Linked DNA regions of Homo sapiens: region 2 is linked to region 1. Evidence: promoter capture Hi-C in human tissues and cell types (Jung and others, 2019). All regions are on one chromosome and are shown on one strand. Each heading gives the region's core, a stretch centred on a gene start or on the middle of the fragment in contact. The rest is flanking DNA. Distances are from core to core; before and after follow the strand shown.

Region 1 (6,276 bases), core at 2,053-4,552:
CTCCCCAAAGTGTTGAGATTACAGGTATGAACCACTGTGTCTGGGCTGAAACATGTTTTATCTTGCTTATTTAGATTTATACTCCACCTGTAATTGATTATGTATTATGTAAGGTTGGAAGTCATTTGTCTTTTTCTCCCACATGAATAGGTAAAAGGCAAATTAAAACTCCAGTGAGATGCTATTATATGCTCACCAGAAGGGCAAATGTAAAAAATCTAACATTGGTTAAGTATGACAAAAATTTAGAACAACAGGAAGTCTCATACACTGCTGGCAAGAGTACCATTGTGGAATATAATTTGGAATTACCTTGTAAAGGTGAAGAAATGCATACATTCTCTGGCCCAGCAAGCAATTCCACCCATAGATTAGACTCTAAATAGACTCATGCACATTTGTGCCAGAACAGTCTTGGACTGTTCAGAACAGCACTGTTTGTAATAGCCCCATTCCCTGAACTGTCCAAATGTCTGGCAGTAGTAGAATGAATTAATCAAATCTGGAGGCCAGGCGCAGTGGCTCATGCCTGTAATCCCAGCACTTTGGGAGGCTGAGGCAGGCGGATCACGAGGTAAAGAGTTCGAGAACATCCTGGCCAACATGGTGACACCCCATCTCTACTAAAGATACAAAAATTAGCCGGGCGTGGTGGTGTGCACCTGTAATCCCAGCTACTCAGGAGGCTGAGGCAGGAGAATTGCTTGAACCCGGGAGGCAGAGGTTGCAGTGAAACGAGATCGCACCACTGCACTCCAGCCTGGGCTACAGAGCAAGACTCTGTCTCAAAATAAATAAATAAATAAAATGTCAGAAACTCATACAATGAAATGCCATATAGCAACAAGAGTGAAGGAAGTAGAGCTACATGAATGAATTTCACAATATAATACTGAGAAAAAAGAAGTCAAACACGAAAGAATCCATTCTGTATGAGTCCATTTCTATAAAGTCATAATACAGCAAAGAATTCACAAAGTATGAACACATGTATGTGTGTACCTATATATATGAATATATGTGTTGTATGTAAAGTTCATAACATACAAAAGAATTTATATCACCAAACAAAGGTCATGAGCAAGCAAACCTAAACTGTTTTGTTGTTGTTGTTTTCGGTAAAAACTACAAAGAAAAGCAAGGAAATCATTACCATAAAAATCAGGAGAGTGGGCCAGGCATGGTGGCTCATGCCTGTAATCCCAGCACTTTGGGAGGCCGAGGTGGATGGATCACCTGAGGTCAGGAGTTTGAGACCAGCCTGGCCAACACGGTGAAACCCTGTCTCTACTAAAAATACAAAATTAGCCGGGTGTGGTAGTGCACGCCTGTAATCCCAGCTACCTGGGAGGCTGAGGCAGGAGAATTGCTTGAACCCGGGAGGTGGAGGTGGCAGTGAGCCGATCACCCCACTTCAATCCAGCCTGGGCAACAAGAGTGAAACTCCATCTAAAAAAAGAAAAAAAAATCAGGAGAGTGGTTACCTCTGGGAGAAGGAGGTGGATATGATATATGGGGTATTCCAGGGGCTTCTGGAGGACTGGCAATGTTCTGTCTTGACCTGGATGCTTGTTAAACTGTCACGTTTATGTAGTATGCATTTTTCTGTAAATATATTTCACAGTAAAAATGGCAAATAGAAAGCAGCCAGATAAAATAAAAGTAATAATCTCTATATTCCACTAAAACTGCCAACATGTCCACTAAATACAATAATGAACACAGCACTGGGTAATTGGTTCTTTGCTTTAAGCCTTGGAGAAACTCGTGGAGACAGAAGAATTCTTGTAGGTTAAGTCATGCTTATTCAATGTACTTGAAATGTTTATTTACAGGTGGGTCTGCTTGATGTGTGTTCTAAAGCAAAAAGAAGCCCAATGTTTCTTCATCCCAAGTTTTAGCCTTTTCTTCTGAAATATAACGAGATCCTGATTTAAAGTCAGCCTGCACTAACAGAAACGCTGTGAGACCACAAATAAGCATGAACTTCTTACATGTGCAAATTACTGTGTGCTTTGTGCCAGCTCCTATGCTATGACCTTTATCTTATAACAGCCTTTATCCCCAGTTCATAGATGAGGAAACTGAGGAAGAGAGGGGTTAAGAAACTTGCTCGCCAGCACGGTGGCTCAAGCCAGTAAAGCTCAAGCCAGTAAAGCTCAAGCCACGGAGGCCGAGGCGGGCGGATCACAAGGTCAAGAGATCGAGACCATCCTTGCCAGCATGGTGAAACCCCGTCTCTACTAAAAATACAAAAAAAAAAAAAATTAGCTGCGTGTGGTGGCGCACGCCTGTAGTCCCAGCTACTCGGGAGACTGAGGCAGGAGAATCGCTTGAACCCGGGAGGCAGAGGTTGCAGTGAGCCAAGATCGCTACACTGCACTCCAGCCTGGTGACAGAGCGAGACTCCGTCAAAAAAAAAAAAGAAAAGAAAAGAAAAGAAAAGAAACTTGCTAAGATGACGTAGCTCAGGGTGGTGAGGCAGAGTCTCACACTCAGATCTGGCTGACTAACCCCAGGCCGCCTCTTGTGATCTCAGCCAAGCTGCACTGTCTTCATGCACCCTCTGGGACAGAAAGACACCATGGGCAGCTGTAGGTCCAGAAACAGTGGGGAGTCACTTCTCCATTTTCACTGAAGGCAATTGGCAGCATTTGAAGAGCCGGGAAAACTTAGGCGCCCAGCTCTCACCTCTGAAGGGGTTTTGAAGAAATTCTATGTTCAGTCCTTTATATATATATATATATATATATATATATATATATATATATATATATATATATATATATAATTATTTATACATATATGTAATTATTTATATATCCCATGCCTGGATCGCGTTTACTTGAAATAAACGCTGTCATTCGTTTGCCGTCCAGTAAGAGGCACCCTTTAGCTGCTTTAAAAAAGCTGAACATAGGGTTACTGAGTGGGTGTGTTCAATGGCGTGAGAAGTAACAGCGAAAAGTCAAAAGCAAATAATGACTAAAGTTTTAAAACTCCTTGAAACTCAGAAAAGAATGAAAGCAGTGACGGAAAAATCAATTAATTCAGTTTCACGAACCATTGCTAAAAGGCAGCAACATTTTAGTGGTTTCCTGACCTACCCGTATTTCTTAGCTCCAAATTCATGTTGGTTTCATTTGTCGCACGGAATTATTTTTAGTTTAGGGTTTGTCCTTTTCACTTCCACATTTCCCGAATTCATAAGTCTGTGCCTGCGGCACTGCGTAGACGCGGGGAGTTCGGTATCAGTTTACACGTTGCCTTCAGTAAAATCCGCCAGAGGTCCACCCATTTTGCCTTTTCCCCTTCCTTGCCCTGGGAGAAATCCTCCCTTCACTGGGAGAGAACTTCTCTCCCAGGGCGGTGCGACCCGGAGCTCCAGCGCCCTAGTCTCCACTTCGTTTGCTGAAACTTGCTTTCTACCAGCTAAGAACCATGCTGCGAGTGATTGTGGAATCTGCCAGCAATATCCCTAAAACGAAATTTGGCAAGCCGGATCCTATTGTTTCTGTCATTTTTAAGGGTAAGAAAAAGTTTTCTTCTTTTTCTGAAGTCCTGTTTTGGAATGTTAGTTTCTTGAGTCACCTTCTTGAAAAGTCTGCATTTAGACAGCTGATGAAGCCAAGTCTCTCCAGCAGCGTTTGTTACCTGCGCAGGACAGGGGAGAGGACCCGTTTCTGGGGAAGGCATTTAATTTTCTCCAGGGCTTGAGACTCATGGAATGACCTGATGTTTTAGCTCTAAGAGTGTGATTTCTGTAAGCTCTTGGCAGAAAACGTATTTGCGAATCACTAAATTTCAGGTATCAACAAACATCTGTATTGGTTCAAAGTAAGTTTCAGTAGTCTTAGATGCATTTTTTCTCTGCCTGTGAGAAATGGGTAAAGGAGGAAGAAGAGCAATTAAATTGTTGGAGACACCATTACTCCTTGAACCAGCCTGACGCTGCTTTGATTGTCACTGGGTTTCTGGGAGGTGGGATGGGTGAAGTTCATAGTTTTATTGAGTTTTCCTGCCCTTTTGTGCCTTTGTAATTGTTTTTATATCTAAACTGTTGGGGAGCTTTTTTTGTACATTCTGTAGCTTTTAAATTGCTCATTGAGGAAAGAACTCTGGACAGCTAGTTTGCAATTTGGGGATCTAGTTCTATCTTGCCTGCTGAATGACCTTGGGCAAGTTACTTCATTTCTCTGGGATCTCAATTTTCTTTTCTGCAAAACAGGCGAGAAGGGTTTAGACAAGATCATCTCTAAAAACCTCATGGTTGGCTGAGCACAGTGGCTCCTCAACCCTGAGCCAACTTTGGGAGGCCAAGGCAGGAGGATTGCTTGAGCCCAGGAGTTTGAGGCTACAGTGAGCCGTGATCACGCCACTGCACTCCAGCCTGGGTGTAAAAATAAATAAAAATAAAAGGCTCATGGTAATTTTAAAAGGCTATTTTTCTATGACACTTGATTGCCATTGCAGGGGAGGGGACAGGAATGCTTGGTGTCATGGTACAATTTGATGTAAGTGACTTAGTTTTGGCTAAAGTGGGGTTTCTAAATCTCAGTGTGGAGGCTTTATCTATTTTGTTTGTCATTGGTAAGACTGCCAACTCACTTCTTGGCAAGAGGGATGGGAAAGAGAGGGAAAGGCAGAGAGAGTGGGAGCATGGATAGACATGTGTTTCCTGACCATGCCTTGCTACATTTCTCGTTTCTTCCAGGAGCCTGACTGCTACTCCCTGTCAGTTCCTGAGGCATCTATACCTTTCGCCTTTCTGTTTCCCGTTTTTCCCCTTTATTTCTCTTCTTAAACCTCTCTCTCTGAGGATGAGCAAGAAAATGAAAGAAATGAAACTCAAAGCTGGCTGGCTGGGTGTGGTGACTTCTGCCTGTAATCCCAGAACTTTGGGAGGCTGAGGTGGGTGGATCACATGAGGGCAGGAGTTCGAGACCAGCCAGGCCAACATGGCAAAACCCCATCTCTACTAAAAATACAAAAATTAGCCGGGCATGGTGGCACATGCCTATAATCCCAGCTACTCGGGAGGCTGAGGCAGGAGGATTGCTTCAACCCAGGAGGAGGAGGTTGCAGTGAGCCGAGATCATGCTACTGCACTCCAACCTGGGCAACAGAGTGAGACTCCGTCTCAAAAAAAAAAAAAAAAAAAAAAAAAAGCTGGCAAATTGTTGGTTGGTTAAAAAAAAAATCTAAAGGGCAAAAATTGGATTTAAAAAAAATTTAAAAAAATTTTTTTGAATAAGACTGGGTCTTGCTATGTTGCCCAGGCTGGTTATAATTCCCTTGCTCAAACTTTCTTCCCATCTCAGCTTCCCAAAGTGTTGGGATTACAGGCGTAAACTACCACGCCCAGCTTAAAATTGGGCTCTTAAAGGACAATGAGGTTTGAAAATCTGGCTAGTGAATATCATGGACTCACGTTATGTCAGAGTTTATTTACATGTGTTAGGTTTTATTAATTTTTTGTTTTCTTGAAGCAGTTACATAATAGAGACATAATATGAAGATTTTACATCCTTCATCATTGACATATAAAGACATTAAAATATATTTGGATCAGTCCGATCATGTAATTATTTAAGTATTATAGATTATAGAGGAATTGGAGTTAATACTATATTGAAATCTGACTTGTTATTTGTCTGGAGTTTGTATGCATTGATGAAACATTTTAAATGATGAAAAATATATCTAAGTCAATGAATGCAAACAATCAATTGAAAGTGGAAAACTTCAGTTAAGTTGGCAAATATAGTCTATACAAACAATTACACATTTAACTTTAGTCTCTTTTCTGGCCTCCTTTTTTCATACAAATCGAGTGGTAAAGTCATTCATTCATTTAGCTAACAAGCAACCTGACAGAGGAAAGGGCACTCAACTCAGAGTAGGAACATCTGCATTCCAGCTGACATTAACTCAATATCTGATTTAACCACCTGGGTCTCCAATTTCTCAGCTGTGGCATGATGGGAACTGGTCTTTAGATGCCTTCCGTCTTTTAGATTCTAATTTTCTAGTTCCAGGTATTGAGTTAGCTGCTCTCAGCAAGATGTGAAATGCATTGCCTTAGGTGCTGGAGGGGATATAGCAACAAACACAGCACTCTTCTTGCTTTCAGTCTATGTCGGTGGTTTAAAATCCTGGTGATGGCAAACCCTTTACAGGTGTGTTCCCAATTTTGAGCACTGCGTAAAATTAAGTAACATTAAGTTCTGACTGAACTGAGGATACTTATAGCAAAATACTGTCCATCAGAGGGAA
Region 2 (5,675 bases), core at 3,129-5,628, 210 kb after region 1:
TCAAGCGATCCTCCCACCTCAGCCTCCAGAGTAGCTGGGATCACAGATGCCCACCACCGTGCCTGGCTAATTTTTGTATTTTTTGTAGAGATGGGGCCCCACTATGTTGCCCAGGCTGGTCTCGAACTCCTGGACTCAAGCCATCTGCCCACCTTGGCCCCCCAGAGTGCTTGATTACAGGTGTGAGCCACCGTGCCCAGCCTCCTCCAACTACCTATAATGCAGAGAACCCAGAGTGCAGGCAAAAAAAAAAAAAAAGCCTCTTAAACAGATGTCACTCTTTACCCCATAAGACTGACTCTCCTTGAACGCTCTTCAGTTCTGGGTTTATGTACATTTCCATTGAGACATGCTCTGCGAATTTCTCAGAGTGCAGCATATGAAGACTGCAGACAGGGGTCTGCCATGCTAACAGACCCATACCAGAAAGGCTGATCCAAGGCCCACTGAGCGAAGTGCAGTACTGAGGTGATGCCTCAGGGACAGACTGAAAGAAGGGCCATGCATAGTTCTGCTGTGTTTAAGAAAAGGCAGCATGTCACCCATTTGAAAAATAAAATGGGCCAGATGCGGTGGCTCACACCTGTAATCCCAGTACTTCGGGAGGCCAAGGCAGGTGGATCACCTGAGGTCAGGAGTTTGAGACCAGCCTGGCCAACATGGCAAAACCCCAGCTCTACTAAAAATACAAAAATTAGCCAGGCATGGTGGCACGTACCTGTAATCCCAGCTACTAGCGGGAGCTGAGGCAGGAGGATTGCTTGAACCTGGGAGGCGGAGGGTGCAGTGAGCGGAGATTAAGCCACTGCCCTCCAGCATGGGCAACAGAGCGAGACTCTGTCTCAAAAAAAAAGAAAAAAAGAAAAGAAAAGAAAAAGAAAAAGAAAATGGGCTGGGTGTGGTGGCTCACGCCTGTAATCCCAGCACTTTGGGAGGCTGAGGCGGGAGGATCACCTGAGGTCAGGAGTTAGAAACCAGCCTGACCAACATGGCGAAATCCCGTTTCTACTAAAAATACAAAATTAGCTGGGCGTGGTGCCATATGCCTGTAATCTCAGCAACTTGGGATGCTGAGGCACGAGAATCACTTGAACCCAGGAGGTGGAGGTTGCAGTGAGCCAAGATCACACCATTGCAACAAGAGCAAAACTTGTTTGCAATGGTGTTTGGGCAACAAGAGCAAAACTCTGTCTCAAAAAAAAAAAAAGAAAAAAAGAAAAGAAAAAGAAAATAAATTTCATCCTAGAAAGAATCAGCTTCAATGACTACCTTAAAATCACCTACTGTGGAATATCAATAAATGAGGTATTGATGAAGTTTGAGGTCAGTCATTCCCCTACTTATTTTCATTCTCTTTAAGCACAGACCATGCCACAGGAACAAGAACAGTGTGGACTCTGATACAATACACAGCACTGATCCGCACATAAACTCATGATTGCTGTTGCCCTATGTGATTGGCATCAACAGGAAACATAAAGGACTAAGTCTCTATTCTTTTACTGTTTTCCTGTTGCAAATTTACCAGACTTTCCGTTTCTTCATTTACACACTGGGAATAAAAATACTCACTAGTAATATTTCGTTGCAGGCGTTAACCGAGGCATGTCAGAGGCCCAAACAGCACCTGGCACATAGCAGGCAGGCAATAAATAGAACTTTGTTGTTGTGGTGGTGGTTATTGTTGTATTTCCATCATGTTAATATCCCAATTTCCAGATTAGAATCTCAGAATCAATCACCATTTTTTCTTATAACATTAAAGCTCTCTCTCTCACATATACACACGTACACACACACACACACACACACCCCTTATACATCTTAAAACACAAAAATTCAGGATCTTGGGATTAATTCTTTATTACTTTTTCAATTCCCACAATAATAACAATAGCTAACACTTTTCTAGAGCTCTCTGCACGCCAGGCACTGGTCTAATTGTTACCAGAAAGGAGTCTCGATCCAGACCCAAGGGAGCGTTCTCAAATCTTGCCCAGGGAAGAATTCGGGGCAAGTCCATAGAGTAAAGTAAAAGCAAGTTTATTCAGAAAGTAAAGAAACAACAGAATGACTATATCATAAACGAGTACCACTGAGGGCTGCCAGCTATTTCTATGTGTATTTCTTGATTATATGCTAAACAAGGGGTGGATTATCCATGAGTTTTATGAGAAAAGGGCAGGGATTTCCCCAGGAACTGAGAGTTTCTCCCCGTTTAGACCATATTGGGTGACTTTCACTACAAATTGCCATGCATTTGTAAACTGTCATGGCACTGGTGGGAGTATCTTTTAGCATGCTAATGTGTTATAATTCACGTGTAATGAGCAGTGAGGACGACCAGAGGTCACCATCTCGGTTTTGGTGTGTTTGGCCAGTTTCTTTACTGCATCCTATCTTATCAGCAGGGTCTTTACGACCCATAACTTGTGATACCAGTCTTGCTGACCTCCTGTCTCATCCTGTGACTAAGAATGACTGACCTCCTGGGAATGGAGCCCAGCAGGTCTCATCTTATCTTACCTAGCCCCTATTCAAGATGGAGTCACTCTGGCCTCTGACATAATGATTTTACATGAGTTAACTCATTTAATTCTCACAGCAGCCCTATGAGGGAAATATTTGTATTATCTCCCATTTTACAGATGAGAAGATTGAACACAGGGAAATTAATCACATTAACAAGATCTTATAAGTAGCAGGCCTGAAAAGCATTGCTTTGTGGAAAAAAGCAAGATAATTAAGAGTGTGTTGTGGCTGGGCACAGCGGCTCATGCCTGTAATCCCAGTAATTTGGGGGGCTGAGGCAGGCAGATCACTTGAGGTCAGGAGTCCAAGACCAGCCTGGCCAATGTGGCGAAACCCCATCTCTACTAAAAATACAAAAATTAGCTGGGCATGTTGATGTGCACCTGTGATCCCAGTTACTTGGGGGGCTGAGGCAGGAGAATCGCTTAAATGCAGGGGGTGGAAGTTGCAATGAGCCAAGATCGTGCCATTGCACTCTAGCCTGGGTGACAGAGCGAGACTCCATTTCAAAAGAAAAGAGTGTGTTGTGTTGTATAGACTGCCCAAATGTAAATACACACATATACATACATACATATTTATACATATGTGTATTTTTACATATAGAGAGAACATGGGAACTAGGGTTCAAAGGGAAACTTGGTTTTCACTTCTGAACCTTTGGAATTTTTCATGCACATTTTACTTATTTAAAAATTAATTAGGCCAGGCGTGGTGGCTCACACCTGTAATCCCAGCACTTTGGGAGGCCGAGGCAGGCGGATCACTTGAGGTCAGCAGTTTGAGACCAGCCTGACCAACATAGTGAAACCCTGCCTCTACTAAAATACAAAAATTAGCTGGGCATGGTGGCACATGCCTGTAATCCCAGCTACTCGGGAGGCTGAGGCAGGAGAATCGCTTGAACCTGGGAGGCAGAGGTTGCAGTGAGCTGAGATCACAACACTGTACTCCAGGCTGAGTGACAGAGCTAGACTCCGTCTCAAAAAAAAAAATTAATTAATAATTGAAGAGTTCTCCAGCTCAAGCTGGGTCACTCCTCTCTGGAGTCCCCTGCCCCTCAAAGCAGGCTCAGACCTGTTTCTGCACACATAGGCCAGCTATCTGGGCCGGGGCGCCAGCCCCAGGTTACAGGCAGGCTGGTGACTTGGAAATGGAGTTCATGTCCAGAAACCTTGTGGAGAGTGGGGAGGAAGTCATATGTTCTTGGTGCCACCCCCATCCCCTCAACTCAGCTTTTTTATCTGCACCAGGCTTGGAAGTAGAATGTCTGCACCCCCAACACACACACACACACCAGCACAAAGAAGACCCCCTCCTCTCTCCACCTGATTTCCATTGCCTGCCCTTCTTTTCAGGCCAGACAAAGCCTTGCATTCCCAATTAGCCACCAAGGGTTTAAAATGCAAATTTCTGGAGGAGTTCACAACCTGTGTGAAAGTTTCCATGTAGGTGTTAATTATTTCCACCTCCTCCTTCCTGGGCTGGGCAGGGTGAGAGGAAGCAAGCCTGGTGGGACTGCTGGCCAGAGGTGAGTGCCCCGGGTGGAAGGGAGGGCGCCTCCCTAATCCTCTCCCATTCCAGTTCCCTACTCGCTCTGGACAGGACGTGCCATGGCCCCTGAAGCTCCCTTCCCTGTCACTATCTCCATCTCAAACATGTCTCCCGGCAAGAAAGCTGGACAGGGACACAGAGGAGACAGAAAAATAACCTCCTGGCATCTCTTGCTTCAAATCCTGATCCCTCCTGGAGGAGGTGCAGACCCTGAAAGGAAGATCCAGGGGTCCTGAGAGAGGGTCCACCTAGTAGACGAGTCTTGTTCCCTGTGGCCCCAGAACAGGAAAAGAGTAGAAGCCACTAGGAATGGGAAGGAATGTGCTTAGTAAGTACCCAGCACACAATAAATCCGTAAGTGATACCTAATATCTGTATTTTTGGCTGAAAAATTGCAAGAGCAACACGTTTGTTGCAAATGTTCAAACATTATGGAAGAGTATGAAAAGTAAAACTCCACCCTGCCCCCAGAGTTTAGGTTCTTCCAGAACTTACTTTTTTTTTTTTTTTTTTAAATTGAGACAGGAGTCTTGCTCTATCACCCAGGCTAGAGGCAGTGGCACGATCTCGGCTCACTGCAACCTCCGCCTCCCGGGTTCAAGTGATTCTCCAGCCTCAGCCTCCCAAGTAGCTGGGACTACAGGCATGCATCACCACGCCCAGCTAATTTATGTATTTTTTTTTTAGTAGAGATGGGGGTTCACCATGTTGGCCAGCCTGGCCTCGAACTCCTGACATCAGGTAATCCACGCGCCTTGGCCTCCCAAAGTGCTGGGATTACAGGTGTGAGCCACCGCGCCTGGCCCAGAACTTTTTATATATACAAATACACACACATAGGGTTGTTTACAATAATGCAACTGCAGTACATGCTTTGCCCCATAGCTCCTTTGCTCTTTTCCCCCACTCAGTAATATATATTGTGGATATCTTTTTATATCAGTACATTTGATACCCATGGTTAATATCAGTAGTTTAAGTAGATACCTTATAAAAAGCTGTTTTAGGTGACTCGGCCTGTAATCCCAGCAGTTTGGGAGGCCAAGGCAGGTGGATCACCTGAGGTCAGGTGTTTGAGGCCAGGCCGGCCAACATGGTGAAACCTTGTCTCTACTAAAAATATAAAAAATTAGCCAGGTGTGGTGGCATACGCCTGTAATCCCAGCTACTTGGGAGGCTGAGGCAGGAGAATCGCTTGAACCTGGGAGGCGGAGGTTGAAGTGAGCTGAGATCGTGCCATTGCACTCCAGCCTGGGCAACAGAGTAAGACTGTCTCAAAAAAAAAAAAAAAAAAGTTGTTATAATTCTTTTTTTCTGATTCTAAAAGTAGTGCATATTTAAGGTAGAAAAACTTGGAAAACATACATAAGTATAAAGAAAAAAAACACAAAGCACCCACAATTCCAGCCCTTTGAAGTACCTGTTGTTTCCCATTTGGTCTGTTTCCTGGAAGAATAACTTGGTATAAAAAGGCCCTGAGAGGCAGGAAGTTCCCACAGTCATGGTAATGATAGCCATTATTAAGTGAGCACTAATCTGGAGCTTGGTGCTGGTGCATCCATGACCTTCAGTCTTAACTGCAACCTTGC

The links. The method cuts DNA at HindIII sites, captures the fragments that hold promoters and counts their contacts. A contact is called where the count stands out against the background at its distance.
Region 2: a contact is called between a fragment that was not itself captured here and the fragment with the promoter of MYOF in region 1, in 1 of the 25 tissues and cell types used here (mesendoderm cells).

The regions. Positions count from the first base shown.
Region 1 is chr10:93,479,360-93,485,635 of GRCh38, reverse strand. It overlaps MYOF (myoferlin), which reads left to right and starts at 3,302. Exons shown (of 54, transcript NM_013451.4): 1 at 3,302-3,529. The coding sequence starts at 3,442. The HindIII fragment of the contact is 15,058 bases long and covers 1-6,276 here.
Region 2 is chr10:93,271,453-93,277,127 of GRCh38, reverse strand. No RefSeq gene overlaps it. Among named protein-coding and RNA genes, the nearest start is that of CYP26A1, 200 kb to the right of the region's middle. RefSeq lists enhancers at 1-566, 2,931-3,497, 3,498-4,064, 4,065-4,632. The HindIII fragment of the contact is 7,919 bases long and covers 419-5,675 here.